Regions from separate parts of the Homo sapiens genome. Here region 1 is linked to region 2. Evidence: promoter capture Hi-C in 16 types of primary human blood cells and fetal thymus (Javierre and others, 2016). All regions are on one chromosome and are shown on one strand. Each heading gives the region's core, a stretch centred on a gene start or on the middle of the fragment in contact. The rest is flanking DNA. Distances are from core to core; before and after follow the strand shown. Region 1 overlaps TBL1XR1 (TBL1X/Y related 1). Region 2 holds the start of ECT2 (epithelial cell transforming 2).

Region 1 (3,408 bases), core at 811-3,310, 4.3 Mb after region 2:
GATTCTTAAATACTTGAATGTTCCTTTCTATTATTAATCCCTTCCCACTATGAAATATTTGCCAATAAAAAGATCAACAAGGAAAAGAGCCAGAAAAGAGCACAGGCTGACTTTATAGTTAATGAAGTAAGTACAACTGCCTACTTTACCAGGAGGAAAAGTCCATATAAATTTCTCTCAACTTATATTCCCTTGCTGTGCACCTTGCCTCGATGAATTGTGTAATAAAAGGACAGATCTAACCTACTCTATGCAAACACAGAAGTTACAGATTATAGTAAACAGACTATTGCTAGAATCAGTAAACATTACTGGAGAATGAAATCCTGCATTACTTGACATATTATTGATGGTTTTTGGTAAGGGCATTCAAAACAAGATCACCTATTTCACATCTCTCAAGCCATTTAGCAGTATGGCTAAGTGACAAACAAAAACAAATGCTGGTTCTGGGAACTGCAGACTCAATTCTGCTGGGATGTGGCCATCCCTTAGGGCTCTGTCTCAAGAAGAAGGGGAGCCATGTTGAAGTCAACAGTAAAAGCTTATTTCCACATCCTACACAATGTCAAGTTTCCTCTAAACTATCAGTCCCTAAATGTTTTAGTTCATGAACTGCTCAACTAGGAAAATACTGTAAAGATGAGAAATCTCACAGGCTCTCTTGCTTTAGCCATGGAAAAGAATCATTAATCGAGGATAATGTTTTCCAAGTTCACCGTGAATAACACATTTTTTAAAAGCCCACACTTTTCAAAACTATAAAATGCAGTTCAGAACTACCAAGCTCAACAAACCAATATTCATTAACCATCCTTTTCAGTGTAAACTATAAATTTCATTAACATGGCCAGTGGACCAGGTAGCGTAAGAAAGCTGTAAGATATCTGAACTAAAATATAATAAGGGCCCATATTAAGAAAATAATTCTGTCTTGATCTTACAAGTAAATAATACTACAATGTGCTAAACCCCTTTGGAATTTTTAGAATTGTCATATGGAGGGGAAGAGTAAATATGCTGCTGGCAATTTTGGAAGAAAATGCTAAAAATACCTAGCTATGATTTCTGAAAAAACATTTCACAGAAACTGAGAACTTTAGTGGGGATAATCATTTTAAAGATAGATCTCATTCCCGGGGAAAAGAATTGGAAGATCCTTTAGAAAGTCCACAAAGGGTTGTTAAACAGAAGAGAAAAGAACATTCATTTGCTGAGCAAAGAACAACTATCTTGATATTCTTTGCAATGCTGAAATAATCTAAGAGTTTTGGGGGAGGGGCAGGGGGTAGCGGAGCGAGGTAAGAGATGTATTTAAAACTATAATGGTGAGAATTTATCAACAACGAAGTCAAAGTTTTTTGTAAGTCACAGTAGTCAAGTTGTCCTGAAAGATGTTGAATCATACACAGAATCAGAGAATTACAAGATTCCTACAGTGGGAATAAAATTCAGACGTTGTCTAGACTAATGATCCCTAAAAGGAAATTGGTAATAAAGTTCTACCAGTTCACAGAATACAGAGAAAAACAAGAACATGTTTTTTGCTACACAGAATTCTTTTATCCCCTAAGGACTCGGTTGTTATAGATTTAGTATGTTGTTTGTTATTATGGTAAGAATTTTCACCTATTATCTCAAATATTTAGGTACCATTTTCACACTTCTACTTGACATTTAAAGAAAATGAAGTACAGAGTAAAAAGTAACAATTTAACCAAGGATATGCTGTGGGATACACTGAAGAGCTGGATGTTGAACCTTGGTCTGACTAAGGCAAGTCTGTGTCCCACAGTGGGGGAGAGGGCTGGCAGGGGACGACTCCCGGTTTGTTGTTACTAGTTAATAAAACCCCAAATTCTGAACAAATAGACAAACCCTGCCGTGAGTATGAGGCTCTGAGGGTTAGGTATACTAGTAATTATATCCATCATGGATATAGTGATACTCACATTCCAATCTAGAGATGTGACATCCTTGTTGCTTGGAACATCTTGCCCTCCTTCTCGTATACAATGTCTAAGTACTAACTGTGTAGAGCCACTGGTGCTGTTCTCACTAAGATTCCATATTCTTGCTGTTGAGTCTCCAGACCTATAAAAGTATGCAATATATTTTAGATCCTCATGACATTCTCACGTATCAGAACAAGGCAACATATTTACATCTGAATATTAATAAGGCAAATAAAAACGACTATCACGAATTTTCATTTCCAGTATTTTTCCCATTCTACACGTTGGGACCCCCAAGCATTCTCGAAATAGTAAGTTTAATTAAAAATTCTACAATTACTTCATGAAGGAATAAAAAATTTACAGAGACAAAATGGCCACAACTAAGCAACAACAGAAAACCTGAATAATGCATATGTTTATAAAATGTTCAATAAGATATTTTTAAGTCATTTTAGTATCACTTTGAGAAACATACCCTGATGCTAGGAGATCACTAACAGGGTTCCAGGCACAGATAAAAACTTCAGATTCATGGCCCCGCAACACAACAGCTTTATTAGGAGGGATTTCAACATCCCCATCCACTTCCATCATATCAGTATGATTATCTGCATCGTGAAACACAAGTAAGCATTTCCAGTTAGGCAGTATTACAACATGGTGGATGGGTGATTTCTTAACTAGCAAATACCTTCCTTTATCGCACACAGTGTAACATTTTTCAATTATATCCAGTTAAGCTGAACATGACTACACAGTCTTAGTCACACAGAAAATAAATTCTTATCTTTAATTAAGTATTGACCACATACTTTTTTTTTAGAGGGGTGGGGGTGGGAGTGGGATGGGAGACTTTAAATGATTAGACCTAAACATGGATAAAACGATAAAATGGTTTGAATTAAATATAATGTCTATCAGTACTATTCTGAGTTTCTGCCAGTAGGGGTTGCTGATATCATTCATATAACATGAGTTGCCTTTTATCTCGATGTCAGAGCTCTATGGTTATTTGTTGATAACTAGTATTACAAATTTTATTTAGAAATCAAATGTAGATGTAAAAATTCATTTAACAATGGGAAAAGGGTTTCTAGATATTTTAAAAAGAAAATAAAAGTAAATCTAGCTTTTTGGAGCTTTAGGAATAAAAATCTGAATTGAACTGTGTGATACAAGTTAGGGAAACAAGTTGGTGCAAGTTAACAGATGAAATTATTTCAGCATAGAAGATGGGGCATTTCTTCTGAGAAAAAATTTTTAAAAATTCTTGTCTCCTGGGACCTTCCTGGGGGGTGGAGGGTGGGAGGAAGAGGAGGATCAGAAAAAATAACTATTGGGCACTAGGCTTAGTACCTGGGTGATGAAATAGTCTGTACAACAAACCCCTGTGATATGAGTTCATCTATATAACAAACCTGCACATGTACCCCGAATTAAAAGTTTAAAA
Region 2 (4,859 bases), core at 2,200-4,699:
ACCACCACGCCCGGCTAACTTTTGTAGTTTTCTTAGAGACGGGGTTTCACCATATTGGCCAGGGTGGTCTCGAACTCCTGACCTCAGGTGATCCGCCCGTCTTGGGCTCCCAAAGTGCTGGGATTACAGATGTCAGCCACTGTGTCTGGTCCTGATCGCTACTTTTAAAAAATAACACAGACCATATAATTTCCTTGCTTCAAGGTTTTTAATTGATCTTCAGTGCTTTCAGCATAAAGTTTAAACTCTGTCATGACAGTGGAGCTCTTCCCAAGCTCCTTCTAACATGGCATTTATTTTACTTTTTATTTTTTATTTTTTGAGATGAAGTCTCGCTCTGTCGCCCAAGCTGGAGTGCAGTGGCGCAATCTCTGCTCACTGCAAGCTCCGCCTCCCGGGTTCACGCCATTCTCCTGCCTCGGCCTCCCGAGTAGCTGGGACTACAGGCGCGTGCCACCACGCCCGGCTAATTTTTTTGTATTTTTAGTAGAGACAGGATTTCACCATGTTAGCCAGGATGGTCTCGATCTCCTGACCTCGTGATCCGCCCGCCTGGGCCTTCCAAAGGCATGTAATCTCATGCCTGGGATTACAGGCATGAGCCACTGCACCTGGCCAGCATTTATTTTTTTTTGAGATGGGGGCTGGATGGTGGGGGGGAGGGGCGGTCTTGCTCTATCGCCCAGGATGGAGTGCAGTCACTACCTAGGCTGGTCTTGAACTCCCGGCTTCAAGGGATCCTCCTGCCTTAGTCTCCCAAAGTGCTGGAATTATAGGCATGAGCCCCCACACCTAGCCTAACCTAGCGTATGTCAGTTGTCTTCCACTGTCCTCTTCATGTATATTATGATCCAGCCACACCAAACTGTTTACTGTCTCCTATATATATTGAGCTTTTATGAGAGCCTAAAGTGCACGTAAACAAGCTAATATTAAGAATTTATGTTTTTAAAAAAGTTCAAGGTTAATATGCCATTCAGTTCAATTGCCTATGCCGTATATAGTATTTAAAAATTTTTCATAATGCTGATCTTGAAACACTATAGCACTTGAAACAGCTTCTGACTCAGTAAGACTAAGTTACTTGTATCATTGTTTTGTAGGTATTTGAATTCTGTGAAAACCTATGCATGCAATAAATTTTTCACCGCAAATACAGCTATCTGCTAGAAGTGCCATGAGAACAAGGCCCATATTTGTCTTGTCACACCTATATTCTCAGTGCTAGCATAGTACCTAATGGGTGCTTAATAGTTATTAAATGAATAAACTATGATTAGGTTAATCAGGACATCCAGTCTCTCAAACATTATGAATGAACTTGGATCTAGCTCATTCACTCTCGAAATATTTATTTGGTACCTACATGTGAAGATTCCTGTGTTTATTAGAGAGCAATGTGTAACATTTGCCTTTGCAGTACTAGCTTTTTGAAAATACCTGAAGATGAGGGATCATGTTTTACTTTACCAGACACCAGCCCTCTGCTAGGTGCAATTAAGTGGCATATGATCACCTATGCACACGATTATCTGAAATACTCCTCTCCACATTGCTTTCTTTGAGCCTGCAGACAGATCTATACTAGACTTTATTTACACTCATCTATTATTTCTGGGTTCTAATGCGGGCTAAAATATTTATTAGGAGACACTGGGTAAGTTACTTAAACCTTTCCTACAGTTTCATGGTATCATGGGACTATGATACCTACTTGTGGGTTGTTTTAAGGATTAAATAAGGTATAAAGTGCATAGTAAAGTATCAGTATGTTCATTCTCTTTCTTCTCTCCCTTATACTGTAATTATCTGTTTATCTGCTAATTTCCCTCACCAGATTGTGTGGTCCAGACAGGCAGTTTTCTATGCCTTATTCATCTTTATAACCCCAACAAGCACAATGGCTGTCTTAAAATTAGTAAATATTTGCTGAGTAAATGAAGACCTAAGAGAGTGAAAAAGGTTGTATTACCCGTTTATTTGTTAATCTAACTGCCACACATCCCTTAAAAGAAATCAAGTACAGCTTTTGTTAGGGAAGCTTAAAATTCATGGCAATGATACCATACACAGTTAATCATTAGCTTTGGAAAGTCTGTTGAGCAGAAAGCGGTGCACAAAGGAAGTAGGGCTGCTTCCCACAATAGCTTAATATGTTTTCAGTGATGAACGTTTTTGGAATGCTGGGCACACCCGACTTCCAAATACGCAAGCACATTCCAAATGGAAATTTCAATTACTGTTTTTCTTTTTTTCTGCCGTAACAGTTATCACAGCATTTTAATGAAGGTCAGACTTAAATACTGACAAGCAGGGAAACCAATAATTACCAGATTGCTTCATTCATTTTGTGGACAGCATTATAAACTTTTCAGGCATTCTAAGATTGCCTGACAAAATTAGAAAAAATTGTTAAGTCCCCACAACCTGCTTGAGATGCTCACAAGTGTTCCATCCCAAAGTACACGTTTGCCTCTTCTTATTGGTATTTAGGTTCTGGCATCTGATTCCCCTTTCTTCTTCTATTTATATTAGCCTTCAGGTGGGAACTATGGAAAACCCACCTGGTGGGGGTGTATTTTTCTTAAGAGATTGTGTTATATGGTATCATATTTAGAAAATAAAGAAATTATTTTCATAATAGCAACGCTAATCACAGGAAAAACTTGATACATTCTTGACTAGACTTTAGGGGAAAGTACAAGTTCTTAGTGGGCGGAGGGGGGCAAAGACGAAGCAATTTGGCTCCAAAAATTCTAGAATCTCGTGGCATATTTTTATCAAATTCAAGCTTATCTTTAAAAAAATCCGAGAATTTTTCTAATTTCTAAGAATTGATTCTAACCCGCGATACTCCCTAGATGGGAGCGCAGTGCTTTAAATAATAGCATTTAAATAAGCGGCTGCTGATTTGAAGTCCACCTGGGGAGTCCGAGTTCTAGGACCGGTCCTTGGCCCTGCCACACGCCAATACAACCATCAAAGTCAAAATCCCTTAACTCAAATTTAAATACATTCCTAAAGCAGAAAGCATCCCGATAGGAAAATCCTACAGCTCACAGCAAGCAGCAGGGAAACATTTATCTCTGGCGGCACTGATTTAAGCTTAAAAGATTTGGTATCGTTTAAAAAAAAAAAAAAGCTGGGTGGGGCCGAGGAGAATCCACCCAAACTTTCCTCAGGAAGTAGGATGTTTACTGAGTAAATATGCGGTAGTCACAGAAACACCTGCTACTCCTTTAAGACCTCAGGAGCCACCACCGCCACCTCCTGGCCACATCCGGGCACTTCTCTGCAAACTCCTGGCGTCCCGACGCCCGAGTCGTTGGGCTTATTTGAAACACACGCACAACCAATCAAGCGGCGCCTGCCGGGACTTGGAGAGCGTCGACCAATCACCGCCCCTCTGGAGACTCCTGCCTATGGGAAAGAGGTTGACATCACGCGCCAATCGGCATGGCTCTTAGAGAGAGCAGCTTAGTTTTTGAATCGGTTGTGGCGGCCGCCGGCGAGGAATGGCGGTATTTGTGAGAGGAGTCGGCGTTTGAAGAGGTGGAACTCCTAGGGCTTTTTTGAGAGTGGTAAGGACTCTGTGTGAGTGAGAGAGGTGCAAGTGGGCGAGCGGCTCCAGAGCCAAGGGCTCTTTTGCCTGCGGTCGACGTCCCCGCCCCTAGTGACCGCGAATTCCGGAGCGCCCCAGCTCAGGCTTCCCGGATCCGGGAACTCCCTCGCCGCACCCCACCCCCAGCAGCCGGGCCCTGACGCGGAGTGGGAGACCGAAGCCCCCAGTATTGCTGGGCATCTTCGCCCTCACCTGTTGGCTCTTTTGGACAGAAGAGTGTGGGTGAAGGGAGGGAGTTGGGAAAGGGATTTTGGCAAGCCGCGCAGCCCTGTGGCTTTGGGGGCCGGCACTTGCAGCCTTTGGGGGCTTATCTCAGAGTGCGCCGTGGTTTTATTCTAGGATTCATCCTGGCTTCTTTGCGGGAAGTTTAATTTTTCGTTTTTGCAAGATAAATCCAGGCCATCCGCCCCTCGTCCTCCCCAGCCACCCGGCACAGATGTGTCCGGCTTAGTGGTTAAAGGCGCAGCCTCTGGATTTAGCCGGGCTTTGAATACCTCTTTTACCCCTTACTAACAGTTTGACTTAGGGGAAGTTGCTTAACCTCTCTGTTCCTACGTTTCTTCATCCATACATTGAAAATAATAATAGTACCTGCCTCTTAGGATTACTGCAGAGATTAAAAGGTTTAGGACAATGTCTGCCACGTATTAAGCGTTAAGTAAATGTCAGTTGTTAATAGTAATGTTATTGTTAATAACACCACCATTATATCTTGGATTGCATTTTAGTCCTTCACCTTGGAAGATGATTGCCTAAAAAGTATTTAAGTAAAAGGAAACTTGAATGTTTGTTTACATGGCAAATTTTATCTCTGGGATAAAAGGGGGCATGTGTTATAGTGTGTTTAGTTAGAAGCTCCTTGGGTCTGTTCTTGGGTGAGAAGCTGTGTAGGTTTATGAACACTGATCCTATTGTGCTTATTTTAAAGGCTTCTGGAATACAGTAATTTGAAAAAAAGTGATTAATATATTTCCATTTCTAATCTGACTGTTGGATGTTAGTTATGTCATCAAGTTACCGTAGTGCATCTCTTTTTCTCTATACATTTTGAAGCTGTTTTGGCAATAAATTGATCATATACAGTATCATCAGGGGCAATTTTAATTATTAATCATCTGCTTTCGATCATCTGCTATGCTCCCTCCCTTTTATTAATCATCTGCTTTTGATCATTTGCTGTGCTCCCTCTTAAAGAGGGAGGCATAGGAGAAAAATGTAAATATTTTCAAGAAGTTTT

Evidence for each region. Contacts are between HindIII fragments. The CHiCAGO score rates a contact against its expected background, and 5 or more counts as called.
Region 1: a fragment that was not itself captured here is called in contact with the fragment with the promoter of ECT2 in region 2 in 1 of 17 cell types (fetal thymus); the score reaches 5.4 in fetal thymus.

Annotation. Positions count from the first base shown.
Region 1 is chr3:177,048,045-177,051,452 of GRCh38, forward strand. It overlaps TBL1XR1 (TBL1X/Y related 1), which reads right to left. Exons shown (of 16, transcript NM_024665.7): 6 at 2,434-2,566; 7 at 1,953-2,094. Among named protein-coding and RNA genes, the nearest start is that of TBL1XR1-AS1, 12 kb to the left of the region's middle. The HindIII fragment of the contact is 3,036 bases long and covers 543-3,408 here.
Region 2 is chr3:172,747,277-172,752,135 of GRCh38, forward strand. ECT2 (epithelial cell transforming 2) reads left to right here and starts at 3,450. Exons shown (of 25, transcript NM_001258315.2): 1 at 3,450-3,581. RefSeq lists enhancers at 2,986-3,255, 3,356-3,405, 3,426-3,685 and a silencer at 3,796-3,865. The HindIII fragment of the contact is 5,304 bases long and covers 3,104-4,859 here.